Linked DNA regions of Homo sapiens: regions 2 and 3 are each linked to region 1. Evidence: promoter capture Hi-C in 16 types of primary human blood cells and fetal thymus (Javierre and others, 2016). All regions are on one chromosome and are shown on one strand. Each heading gives the region's core, a stretch centred on a gene start or on the middle of the fragment in contact. The rest is flanking DNA. Distances are from core to core; before and after follow the strand shown.

The links. The method cuts DNA at HindIII sites, captures the fragments that hold promoters and counts their contacts. A CHiCAGO score of 5 or more calls a contact.
Region 2: a contact is called between a fragment that was not itself captured here and the fragment with the promoter of RUSC1 in region 1, in 2 of 17 cell types (endothelial precursors and erythroblasts). The highest score is 7.0, in endothelial precursors.
Region 3: a fragment that was not itself captured here is called in contact with the fragment with the promoter of RUSC1 in region 1 in 4 of 17 cell types (endothelial precursors, M2 macrophages, M1 macrophages and 1 more); the score reaches 7.4 in endothelial precursors.

Annotation. Positions count from the first base shown.
Region 1 is chr1:155,318,485-155,322,863 of GRCh38, forward strand. It overlaps RUSC1 (RUN and SH3 domain containing 1), which reads left to right and starts at 2,410. Exons shown (of 10, transcript NM_001105203.2): 1 at 2,410-2,507; 2 at 3,204-4,379. The coding sequence starts at 3,290. It overlaps FDPS (farnesyl diphosphate synthase), which reads left to right. Exons shown (of 11, transcript NM_002004.4): 7 at 181-269; 8 at 372-444; 9 at 1,127-1,204; 10 at 1,310-1,444; 11 at 1,925-2,181. The coding sequence ends at 2,125. It overlaps RUSC1-AS1 (RUSC1 antisense RNA 1), which reads right to left. Exons shown (of 6, transcript NR_145424.1): 2 at 3,759-3,953; 3 at 3,141-3,211; 4 at 1,319-1,448. RefSeq lists a silencer at 2,352-2,501 and an enhancer at 3,117-4,100. The HindIII fragment of the contact is 14,544 bases long and covers 2,291-4,379 here.
Region 2 is chr1:155,472,138-155,476,245 of GRCh38, forward strand. All of the region lies in intron 3 of ASH1L (ASH1 like histone lysine methyltransferase), which reads right to left. Among named protein-coding and RNA genes, the nearest start is that of ASH1L-AS1, 88 kb to the right of the region's middle. The HindIII fragment of the contact is 754 bases long and covers 2,183-2,936 here.
Region 3 is chr1:155,537,625-155,541,934 of GRCh38, forward strand. The region is part of intron 1 of ASH1L (ASH1 like histone lysine methyltransferase); the gene reads right to left. Among named protein-coding and RNA genes, the nearest start is that of ASH1L-AS1, 22 kb to the right of the region's middle. RefSeq lists a silencer at 3,197-3,246. The HindIII fragment of the contact is 4,484 bases long and covers 1-4,110 here.

The DNA of each region.
Region 1 (4,379 bases), core at 1,160-3,659:
GAAAGGGTGATAAAGGACTGTGTGTATGAATATGGGCCTTAAGTTTTGGGGCTTTCTCCCCTTCTGTTGCCTTTCTGATTCTGCCCAGTTGTCAGCTGGTATGGGATGTTGGGCTTGGGATACCAGGGTTTCGCATATCTGGAGAAAGCCTGGCTCATGGACCGTCTTTGTCTTGCTTAGAGTTCCTATCAGACTGAGATTGGGCAGACCCTGGACCTCCTCACAGCCCCCCAGGGCAATGTGGATCTTGTCAGATTCACTGAAAAGAGGTGAGGGGAGGTGAGGGACAGCGCGAACCATGTCTGGACAGCGAGGGAGGGCTCAGGATGTGCATTGCCCTCCTGAGGAGTTTCTCTTCTCCCCTTACTCAGGTACAAATCTATTGTCAAGTACAAGACAGCTTTCTACTCCTTCTACCTTCCTATAGCTGCAGCCATGTACATGGTGAGTGAGCCTCCTCACCCCTCTCTGCTCTGCTGATGGGGGCTTTTGGACAGCAAGGCATAGAGCAGAAAACGTGAACACTGCTACCCCTGGTGAAAAACTGTGTGACCTTGAGCAAGTCGGTCTCGCTCAGTCTCTTTCCTCAGCTGGGGATAAAATTCCTACTTCACAGGACTGTAAAGATTAAGCAAGGCAAGGGATATGAAAGTGCTTAGCACATAATAGGGGAACAATATATCCTGTATCTGAGTATGGATAGGAGTGTGGAGATCATCCAGGTTGAGAGGGAGAAGAGTGGATTAAAGACAGTCAGTGGGATTAAGTGTCTACCCTGACCTTGCTTCTCTACATTTCCTTTTCATCTTGAAAGAAGTTGGAGGTGGCAAAAATATTAGGAAGGTGGATCAGAATGACTTGGGGACTGACATTTGTGAGGGAAGAGACAGGCTGTGCACCTCTAGAATGGATTCATCTCTTTTATGACTCCCAGGAAGGCCTAGCCAAAAATAAGTGGGATTGAGGTTGGACCATCAGTCAGGACTGTCTAGGTCAGGGAAGCCAAGATGTCTGAAGAGAGAGGAAAGATTTGGGGCTGCAGTAGGGCAAGACCCCATGGGAGGAAGCAGCCAGGAAGATGCCGGCACCCCTGGGGTTTGGCTTATTAACCCCCCTTTCCCTGCAGGCAGGAATTGATGGCGAGAAGGAGCACGCCAATGCCAAGAAGATCCTGCTGGAGATGGGGGAGTTCTTTCAGATTCAGGTAAGAAGGCAGGAGGCAGTAGCAGAGAACAGGCACCAGCTTCACTCCTCCTCTGCCCAGGAACCTCATCCTTCCTCTTTTGCTGCCCTCCCCCTCCCTGCCCAGGATGATTACCTTGACCTCTTTGGGGACCCCAGTGTGACCGGCAAAATTGGCACTGACATCCAGGACAACAAATGCAGCTGGCTGGTGGTTCAGTGTCTGCAACGGGCCACTCCAGAACAGTACCAGATCCTGAAGGTGCCTGAGAGAGGGTGGTGGGTCCCTGAGTTGGTGGAAAGGGATAGAGCAGTGGTTCTCAACTAGAGGCAGTTTTCCTCCCGAGGGGACATTTGGCAATGTCAGCAGACATTTTTTGCCATTGTCATTACAACTCTGTGTGTGTGCATGTGGTACAGACATCTAGTTGGCAGGAGCCAAAGATGTTGCCAAACATGTAGTACACAGAACAGCTCCCCCAGACAGGATTATCTGGTCCCAAATTTCAATAGTGCCAAGGTGGAGAAACCCTGGAGTAGAGGATGCCTGGTATGAGGCAATATTTGGGATAGGGAAGGGAAGCTTGGGATTTTAGCTACGTAGAGACACTTGAAAATTGGAGGGAGGAAAGGAGTGGGTGGCTTTGGAGATGTTCTGGAATATGTGAATGAGGGGAGTGGAGGGGTCCTGGAGGCTCTGGGGAAGGCCAAGCCCGTTTTCCTGTCTTTCAACCTCTTCCAGGAAAATTACGGGCAGAAGGAGGCTGAGAAAGTGGCCCGGGTGAAGGCGCTATATGAGGAGCTGGATCTGCCAGCAGTGTTCTTGCAATATGAGGAAGACAGTTACAGCCACATTATGGCTCTCATTGAACAGTACGCAGCACCCCTGCCCCCAGCCGTCTTTCTGGGGCTTGCGCGCAAAATCTACAAGCGGAGAAAGTGACCTAGAGATTGCAAGGGCGGGGAGAGGAGGCTCTCAATAAATAATCGTGTAACCTTCTTGTGGTTCTGTTCTTGCTCGGCCCAGCCAGAGTCTGGCTCTTTCCAGAATGTGCAGGGTGGGGTGCTGGGAGGACTCGCTGCACGGAACCAGGACCCAGGGGCCAAAAGCTTAGGATATATCAAACCCTCTAGGTGGGTGACAAAAGACGCTAAACGCTGGGGGCGGGTCTGAGCTACGCCACGCCCATGCGCGAAGGGGTGCAGCTGCGCAGCGCAGGGTAGGTTGTGCTAGTGCCCCTCCCCTCCCGCTCTGTGCCCCGCCGGGCGGGGACCGTGGGAGCCGCGGACAAGCCCAAGGCCGGAGCGGTTCCAGGAGGACCCTGGTGAGGAGGGCTCGGCCCATGGGTGTAGACCGATGGACCTGGGCACGAGGGGCGGGGCAGGACAAGGGAGCAGGAGAAATGAATAGAGAAAGGGTGCGGTGGTGGCTGAACGATGGAGACGAATGCGGAGAGAATGGACATACCGCTGTTCCGAGGGGCGAGGGCGCAGGCTGGAGCCCGGCCGAGGCAGCCAGCAGATGCGGAGTTGACAAGCTGACGGCTGCTCCATCCTTTTCCTCTCCAGCCCCCACCCCTTTCCTGCATTCACCAGACAAACTCTGCGTATTGCCCCACCCCCATCCTCCACCTCCTTTCAGGGCATCTGGGTGGGTCTCCCTGGGTCCCTTCCTCTGGGAGTAAGGGGTAGGCTGGAGGGCAGGGCCAGATTGCGGCAGCAGGGACCTGGAGGTCCATTCTGGGCCCGGACCTCTTCCAGGCCCCCGCCCCCCTTCGGAGATCCAGAGCGCAGCCGCGTTCTCTGACCCTCCCGGCTCCATTCCCGGGGGGTTACATTCGACTCCATCTGCAAACACTGCAGTGGAAACTAATGGTCAGTCGATTGCGATTTGCATCTCATTGAAATATCTTCCAAAGCAGCCAGAGCCTTCAGGCCTGCTGCTGCCGTCAAGTCACCTCGGTGTCCTTCCCCGCAGCTCTTGTCCTCACTGGCCGGGCTTCACCACCTCTGTCTTCTAGGTCTGCACCTGTGGTTGCCAGGTAGGTGGATGTGAGAGACCCTACCCTTCTGGTTCTCTAGAAGCCATCCCATCGCCGCTAGCATCATGCTGTCCCCTCAGAGAGCTTTACTCTGCAACCTCAACCACATCCACCTCCAGCACGTCTCCCTGGGCCTGCACTTGTCCCGCCGTCCTGAGCTACAGGAGGGGCCTTTGAGCACACCCCCTCCTCCAGGAGACACTGGGGGCAAGGAGAGCAGGGGCCCCTGCAGTGGCACCCTGGTGGACGCCAATTCCAACAGCCCAGCTGTGCCCTGCCGGTGCTGCCAGGAGCACGGTCCGGGCCTAGAAAACCGGCAGGACCCGTCACAGGAGGAAGAGGGGGCTGCCTCTCCCTCAGACCCAGGCTGCTCCTCCTCACTCAGCTCCTGCTCAGATCTTAGCCCCGATGAGTCCCCTGTCTCAGTCTACTTGCGGGACCTCCCTGGTGATGAGGATGCCCACCCTCAGCCCAGTATCATCCCCCTGGAGCAGGGCTCCCCACTGGCTTCAGCAGGCCCTGGCACCTGCTCACCGGACAGCTTCTGCTGCTCTCCTGATTCCTGCTCCGGAGCTTCTTCTTCACCCGATCCTGGCCTGGACTCGAACTGCAACGCCCTGACCACCTGCCAGGACGTCCCTTCCCCAGGCTTGGAGGAAGAGGACGAGAGGGCGGAGCAGGATCTCCCTACCTCTGAGCTCTTAGAGGCGGATGATGGGAAAATCGACGCTGGGAAAACGGAGCCCAGTTGGAAGATTAACCCAATTTGGAAAATTGACACAGAGAAAACTAAAGCTGAATGGAAAACCACTGAAAACAATAACACTGGTTGGAAAAACAACGGGAATGTTAACTCTAGCTGGAAAAGTGAACCTGAAAAATTCGACTCTGGTTGGAAAACCAACACAAGAATAACTGATTCTGGCTCGAAAACAGATGCAGGGAAAATTGATGGAGGATGGAGAAGTGACGTCAGCGAGGAGCCGGTGCCCCACCGGACAATCACGTCCTTCCACGAGCTGGCCCAGAAGCGCAAGCGGGGCCCAGGGCTGCCCCTTGTCCCGCAGGCGAAGAAAGATCGCAGTGACTGGCTCATAGTCTTCTCGCCCGACACCGAGCTCCCCCCCTCGGGGTCGCCGGGCGGCTCCTCGGCAC
Region 2 (4,108 bases), core at 1,310-3,809, 150 kb after region 1:
AAAATTAGCCAAATGTGGTGGTGCACTTCTGCAATCCCAGCTACTCGGAGGCTGAGGCAGGAGAACAGCTTGAACCCAGGAGGCGGGTTTTGCAGTGAGCCTAGATTACGCCACTGAACTCTAGCCTGGATGACAGAGAGAGACTCCATCTCAAATAAATAAAGAAGGAAATTTTTAAAAAGACAAATTCGTACTTAACACAGGTACTTTTGCATAAACTTCCCTGCTATCTTTCTCATTCCCCAAGGACCCTGAAACCAGGTTCACATCCACCATTTTCACCCCAACTTCTGTAACTGTCCTCTTGGGTAATTTCAATGTCCATGTAGATGATACATTCAACATCCTAACCTGTCATCTCATATCACCTTCACCTCAATTTACTCATCCTTTATAATCTCCTTCTCATGACTCTGAAATTAGGGATCTCAAATCCAAAAGTTCCCTCTTTAAATAGCTGAAGAGGGCCAGATACAACACACAACAGAAAACAGTGAGGACTGTGGCGAACAAAAGAATACAAGCAGCAATGAAAAAGGGCCTGCCAATACTGAGCCCCAGCCATCCCTATTATCCACGAAATGTGGACTAATTGTTGCCAGATGTTCTGATTTTTCTGAGAAGCAGAATTCCACATTTTTATGTAAAATTGCTACATTTTTTAATATGAGCAATTTTTTAAAAAGTGTAGAGATCATCACAAAGAATCACATGTGGGCCAAAAGCTGACAGTTTTTTAAGCACTACTTTAAATACTGCAGTTCCTCAGAGCTACCCAAGGCTGTTTGTTTTTCACTCCCTATTCTCTCCCAAGGAAAATATCATTACTCTCATGATTATACATATAAAAATTCACAAAGGTATACAGTATGTTTTGTTATTGTATGTGTTTCTATATAGTTAAATAGCTCTTGTATCATTGATAAATACAAGAATGATACCAGAATATGGAAGTTGTATTGGTTAATACATGACTTTTAAAGCACATAAATATTTTGCAGGACAAAACTAGCAGCTGAACGAAGGAGTACACCAACACAAACTAAATGAAGAAAGCCATAAGCAATGTAGTTCTGTTCAAAATGTACATTCATCCACATTCTTCCTCTTGGCTCCTACTGGCAACAGACTTTTCTGCAAGTGTTTTTATTGTGTGGCTTCTCTCAATGTTTGTACAAAAGAAACAAACAGGTACAATACACTAGAACCAGCTATGTCTGGCATTGCTACATTTATCTACCAATGACATCCTTCTGTGCCTACAGTTGAGCAGCTTCAACCCTTCTTTATATCCCTACAAGCGACCTTCATCTTTTCCTGGAAGGTTAATGCCTATATTTATTGTAGTATTTCTATTTTTTTTTTTTTTTTTTGAGACAGAGTATCACTCTGCCAGCCCAGGCTGGAGTGAAGTGGCACGATCACAGCTTACAGTAGCAGCCTTGAACTCCCGGGCTCAAGTGATCAACTTGCCACAGCCTCCTGAGTAGCCAGGACTACAGGCGTATGCCATCATGCCCAGCTAATTTAAAAAACATTTTTCTGTAGAGATGGGAGGCTCCTATGTTGCCCAGGCTGGTCTTCAACTCCTAGGCTCAAGTGATACTTCAACCTCACCTCTCAAAGTGTTGAGATTACAGGCATTAGCCACCATTCCCAGCCTCTTTATTTATTAAGACATTTAGTCTTAACAATATATATACATATATTTTTTTTGAGACAGACTCTCACACTGTCATCCAGGCTGGAGTGCAGTGGCACAATTTCGGCTCACTGCAACCTCTACCTTCCAGGTTCAAGGGATTCTCCTGCCTCAGCCTCCCGAGTAGCTGAGACTACAGGCACATACCAGCACTGCTGGCTAATTTTTTTATTTTAGTAGAGACAGGTTTCGCCATGTTGGCCAGGCTGGTTTCGAACTCCTGACCTCAGGTGATCTGCCTGCCTTGGTCTCCCAAAGTGCTGGGATTACAGGCATGAGCCATTGTGCCTGGTCTAGTATGTCTTTTTAACTGCTGTTTTTGAAAATTATTACTTTTCTTGATGCTCTGCTTATAAAGTTGCACAGGTTTTTGAGAGTCTGTTCCTAACTTTTATTTCACCCAGAAGCCCTTTTTAGTGAATGATATTGCCTAACACAATTTTTCAAATACTCAGAGGAAATGCTCTTATCTCCAGGTCAAGCTTCTCTACTAAGCCTGAGAACTAGATACCCAACGACCTTCTCAAATCCTCCGCTTCAACGTTCAGACACTTCAAACTGTATGTATTAAAAAGTGGCTCAGAGTGGTGACTCAGGCCTATAATCCCAGCACTTTGGGAGGGCAAGGTAGGAGGGTCCCTTTGAGCCCAGGAGTTCAAGATCAGCCTGGGCGGCATGGCGAAACCCCATCTCTACAAAAATACAAAGAAATTAGCCTGGCATTGGTGGCTTGCACCTGTAGTCCCAGCTACTCAGGAGGCTGAGGCTGGAAAATGGCTTGAGCCCAGGAAACAGGTTGCAGTGAGCCAAGATCGTGCCACTGCACTCCAGCCTGGGCAACAGAGTGAGAGCCTGTCTCAAAAACAAAAGAAAAAAAAAAACTGTGTTCTCCTCTAAATCTGCTCCTCCTATAGTCTTCTCTCTCTTAGTGCATGTTATCTCCAATCTCCCATATGTTCAGACATAAGCCTGCCACTAACCTAATCTAAGCACCATCATGTTATCTAGACTACTGCAATTGCCTATTAACCAGTTTCCTTCAAATTATTTTTATCCTCTCCATCCAGTGTTCATGCAGAAGGCAAAATCATCATTTAAAAATGCAAACCTAAAATCAATACTCCTTTGTCTTTTGTTCTTAATATAAAATCCAAAATTCTTAACACATTGTTTGGTCTCTTCTTTTGCCACATTTCTCACTACTCTCTCTGTATTTCCTCTTTCACCACGATGAAGCTTTTTTCAGTTTATCCAATATCTAAACTCCTTCCCAACTGAGAATCTTAAAACATGTTCTTCACTGTGGCTTTTTTTTTATTTTTATTTTTTGAGATACAGTCTCACTCTGTTGCACTGGCGTGATCTGGGCTCACTGCAATCTCCGCCTCCTGGGTTCAAGCGATTCTCCTGCCTCAGCCTCCCAAGTAGCTGGGACTACAGGCACGTGCCACCATGCCCGGCTGATTTTTGTATTTTTAGTAGAGATGGGGTTTCACCGTGTTGGCCAGCTGGCCTCAAACTCCTGACCTCAAGTGATCTGGCCACCTCAGCCTCCCAAAGTTCTGAGATTACAGGCGTGAGCCACCGCGCCTGGACTTCACTGTGGCTTCTCATCCTTTAAGTCTCAACTTTTTATCCTCAGCCATAACTAGTAACTATCTAATTAGATCCCCTTCTGCCAGCCCTTTAATCTGTATCATAACACTCCATGGTATTAACTTTATAGCATTTTTCTCAATTAAGCCATTATTTATTTGCTTATCACTCTATGGTTTGTCTTCCTTCACTAAGCTGAAAATTATGAGGTCAGATATCAGGCATTTACTATTGTATATGCCAGTGACTAGAATAGTCCTGTATGTTTCAGGAATTCAACATATGAACCAGTAAATGAATGAATAATGAATGAGTCTGTTTATCCAGTTAAATGTTGCACATCTGCCAGGTCTCAGTTTAGGATCACCTTCTCAGGAAAGACTTCTCTGGGTTAGGCTCCCCATTTCATGCTGTACTCTCTCCCTTTTACAGTCCTTATCACAATTTTAACAACACGTAATGTGATTTTTTGTTTATTATCTACCTCCTCTACTATAATCTCCATGACTCAATGAACCTGTGTGCCTCATTCTCTATTATATAACAAGGGCCCACAAAGTAGAATGCCTGGTAAATACCTGATATTCAGTAACTATTACTGATTAAATAAACTATTTGTTGAATGGACCTAAGCATAAGACTTTTTCTCTCTTTACGTTGTTAAAAGCTGGCCGGGTGCAGTGGCTCAAGCCTGTAATCCCAGCACTTTGGGAGGCCGAGGTGGGCGGATCACGAGGTCAGGAGTTCGAGACCATCCTGGCTAACACGGTGAAACCCTGTCTCTACTAGAAATATAAAAAACTAGCCGGG
Region 3 (4,310 bases), core at 619-3,118, 220 kb after region 1:
CTCAAGTGGATCACAAATCTAAATTCGAAAACGAACTATAAAATTCCTAAAAGAAAATGTAGAAGGAAATCTTTGTGACTTTGGGTTAGGCAAAATTTCTTAGATATGACAGCATGATTTTTTTTTTTTAAAAAAAGCTGGTAAACTGAACTTCACCAAAACTATAAACTTCTGTCCTTCAAAAAGGCAGTACTAAGAAAATGAACACAAGACACAAACTACTACAGGTTACTGTGATAGTACACATTCCTGCCACCTCTCTGGAAGCCACTCCTGAGTCTTATCTGCTGATCTGATTTGGCCTACCAGACTTCCAGATGTTGGAATTCCTTAGGTTCAGTCAGTCTTTTCTTTCTCTAAAATATTTTGGCATTTTTTAAATTTTTTAATTTTTATTTATTTTTTATTTTTATTTTTGGAGATGGAGTCTCACTCTGTCACCCAGGCTGGAGTGCTGTGGCACCATCTTGGCTCACTGCAACCTCTGCATCCTGGGTTCAAGTGAGTCTCCTGTCTCAGCCTCCAAAGTGGCTGGGACTACAGGTGCGCATCACCAGGCCAGGCTAATTTTTGTATCTTTAGTACTTATATTTTGCATTTTGGAGATGGGGTTTCACCATTTTGGCCAGGTTGGTCTTGAACGTCTGACCTCAAGTGATCTGTCCACCTCAGCCTCCCAAAGTGCTGGGATTACAGGCATGAGCTATGGCACCTGGCGTTTTTTTGTTTGTTTGTTTGTTTGTTTGTTTTTGAGATGGAGTCTCACTCTGTCACCCAGGCTGGAATGCAATGGCGCAATCTCGGCTCACTGCAACCTCTGCCTTCTGGGTTCAAGCGAGTCTCCTGCCTCAGCCTCCCGAGTAGCCGGGACTACAGGAACGCACCACCACATCCGGCTAATTTTTTATATTTTCAGTAGAGACAAGGTTTCACTATATTGAACTCCTGACCTCGTGATCTGCCCGCCTCGGCCTTCCAAAGTGCTGGGATTACAGGTGTGAACCACTGTACCCAGCCTTTTTTTTTTTTTTTTTTTTTTAATAAAGACGGCTCTATCATCTGGCCTGGGGTACAGTGGCATAATAATAGCTTACTGCAGCCTCCAACTCCTGTGCTCAAGGGATCCTCCCACCTCAGCTTCCCAAGTAATAGGGACCATAGGCATGTGCCACTGCACCTGGCTCCTACTCTAGATTCTTTCCCTGTGTAATTTATTATACTACTTAAGACTTTTAAGCTCCAGACAGTATATCTGAAACCTGGTTCAATATCTTTACAAAGTTTAATCCTCCTCCAATCTTTCCCATTTCAGTACCACCAATTGCTCAAGTCAGAGCTACTACTAGTCAAACTACTACAGGTTACTATGATAGTACACATTCCTGCCACCTCTCTGGAAGCCACTCCTGAGTCTTATCTGCAGATCTGATTTGGCCTACCAGACTCCCAGATGTTGGAATTCTTTAGGTTCAGTCAGTCTTTTGCTTCTCTAAAATCTTTTGGTATCTTTTTAATTTTTTAATTTTTATTTTTTATTTTTTGAGATGGAGTCTCACTCTGTCACCCAGGCTGGAGTGCAGTGGCACTCATCCTGACTATTCTCACTCCCTTATTGTCAACCTTCAACCTAACACCAAAACTTCTGAATGTCACATAAATAATCTGTGATTACATAGAGTTCCTCTCCAATTCTCCCACTGACTTGTCCAAAAAAACCAACAATTCTCACCCAGAATATAGCAACAGCCCTCTAACTTCTTTGTACATCTACCTTGCTCTCCTCCAGCCCAAGCTACATCCAGAAAGGTGTTTTATTTTATATATATATATATATTTTGTTCTTGTTCTTTGAGAAAAAATCTTGCTCTGTCACCCAGGCTGGAGAGCAGTGGCACGATCATAGTTCACTGCAGTCCCAACCTCCTGGGCCCAAGCAGCCTTAGCCTCCTGAGTAGCTGGGACTACAGGCACACACCAACCATGCCCAGCCAATTTTTTATTTTTGTAGAGACAGCATCTTGCTATGTTGCCCAGGCTGGTCTCGAACTCCTGGGCTCAAACGATCTTCCAGCCTCGGCCTCCCAAAGTGCTGGGAATGCAGGCGTGAGCCACTAGAGATTGTTTTTCTCAAAGGCCCAGTGGCTCATGCCTGTAATCCCAGCACATTGAGGCCAAGGCAGGAAGATCGCTTGAGGCCAAGGCAGGACGATCGCTTGAGCCCAGGATTTTGAGACCAGCCTGGGCAACACAGCAAGACCTCATCTCCACTAAAAATAAAAAATAAAATAAAAAATCAGCTAGGTGTTGTGGCACACCCACCTGTAGTACCAGCTACTCAGGAAGCTGAGGTGGGAGGATTCCTTGAGCCCAGGAGGTCAAGGCTACAGTGAGCTATGATTGCACCACTGACTCCAGCCTGGGTGACAGAGCAAGACCTTGTCTCAAAAAAAAAAAAAATTCTGATAATGTAATTTCCCTGCTTAAAATCTTTGAATGTTTTCTCACTGCCCTTCATATATAAAAGTCCCTAATCACACTCATAACTTGCAACTTACAATCTGCAGCATGGTTTGGTGGTTAAGAATATAGTCTCTGAAGCCAAAACACAGTCTCAGAAGCTAGTCCTGCTATATTAATTTTGTGCAAAGTACTCACGGCCTCAGTTCTCTCAAATGTGAATAGAAATTGTTGTAAGGGTTCAATAAACTAATATATGAAAAGTACTTAGAACAGCACTTCACAGTATCACTGTTTACTTTTTGTTGTTGTTAACTGCCCCTACATATCTCTGGCCTCACCATTCCCCACACTGTTGTGAGCAGAGCAAGAGCAAATAACCACCACCAAAAAAAAGCAAGCACTCAGCTGGGTGCAGTTACTCAAACCTGTAATCCCAGCACTTTGGGAGGCCAAGGCAGGCAGACTGCTTGAGTCTAAGAGTTTGAGATCAGCCTGGCAACACAGCAAAACCCCATCTCTACAAAAAATGCAAAAATTAGCTGGATATGGTGGCTCATGCCCATAGTCCCAGCTACTTGGGAGGCTGAGGTGGGAGGATCGCTTGAGCCTGGGAAGTCAAGGCTGCAGCGAGCTAAGATCACACCACTGCACTCCAGCCTGAGTGACAACACGAGACCCTGTCTTAACAACAACAACAACAGGAAACAACAAAAAAGCAAACACTCATACATCTGTGATACATGTGTTTGAAGCACTTTTCAGTTCCCAAATAACTGTTTTCCCTCCTTTAGAACATACAGTTAGTTCTCTCTGCCTGGAACTCTCTTCCAGCATCTTTCCATATGACTACTTCTCTTCCTTTCCATCTTAGTTTAAAAGTCATTCCCTCGGGGAGACATTTCCTATTCCCCTAGACTTGGGAGGCTGAGGCGGGAGGATGGCTTGAGTCTGGCAGATCACCCTGCTAAGTGCATATCCATACTATAAGTCTCTTAATATGCATTATACCAATTAAGTTATTTAATATCCATATCTTCCACTAGACCATGCATTACATGAGAATAAAAATCCTGTTTGCTGTATTCACTGCTACATCCTTAGCAAAGCACCTAGAACATAAAGGGCATTCAAAAAATATCTATTGAATGAGTAAACAAACATTAATTCTACATTTTAAAACGTGTATATAGATAAAAGAGAATAGGCAAAATGAAACTTAAAATATTAAAAATTGATATTTTTCTTTAAATATTATATAAATTTTTCAGTTTCTATAATTTAAAAAATAAGCACTATATACACCATGTAATGTGCTTTCCAAAGGTAAAAGAGTAACCCATGCCCTAATTAGTTTGAAGATATTTTACATGAAACTACTAAGTCACTAATATTATATAAGTCACTAAAATCACAAAAAAATTAGAATAGCTTCATGAAGTTACCAACAAAATTGGAAGCAATTTCTACAATATAAACTATACTTACAAAGTTAGACAAATTTTTTACTCAACTATAGAACCCTTCACTGAAAAGATGACAATCAGTAACCATTTCTAACTCTCAAAGTACTGATATCCAATAAATCTAGTTAGTTTCATATTTATGTACTCTATATATTTCTTCAATTTCAAGAAGCTGCTGATTTTAAGAAGCTTCATGAATCAATAACCATATTTTTAGGGGTGAGGGAGCACTACTAGATTAAATGTAAACATCAATTATGTTATTTCCTAATTTTAGAAATATTAAACTGGGAGGAAAGTATGCATCTCATGACCAAGAAAATACTGTATTATACCAACAAGTCCTTCTAGAAACTTAGAACAGGAAAGTGAAATAGACATAAATTT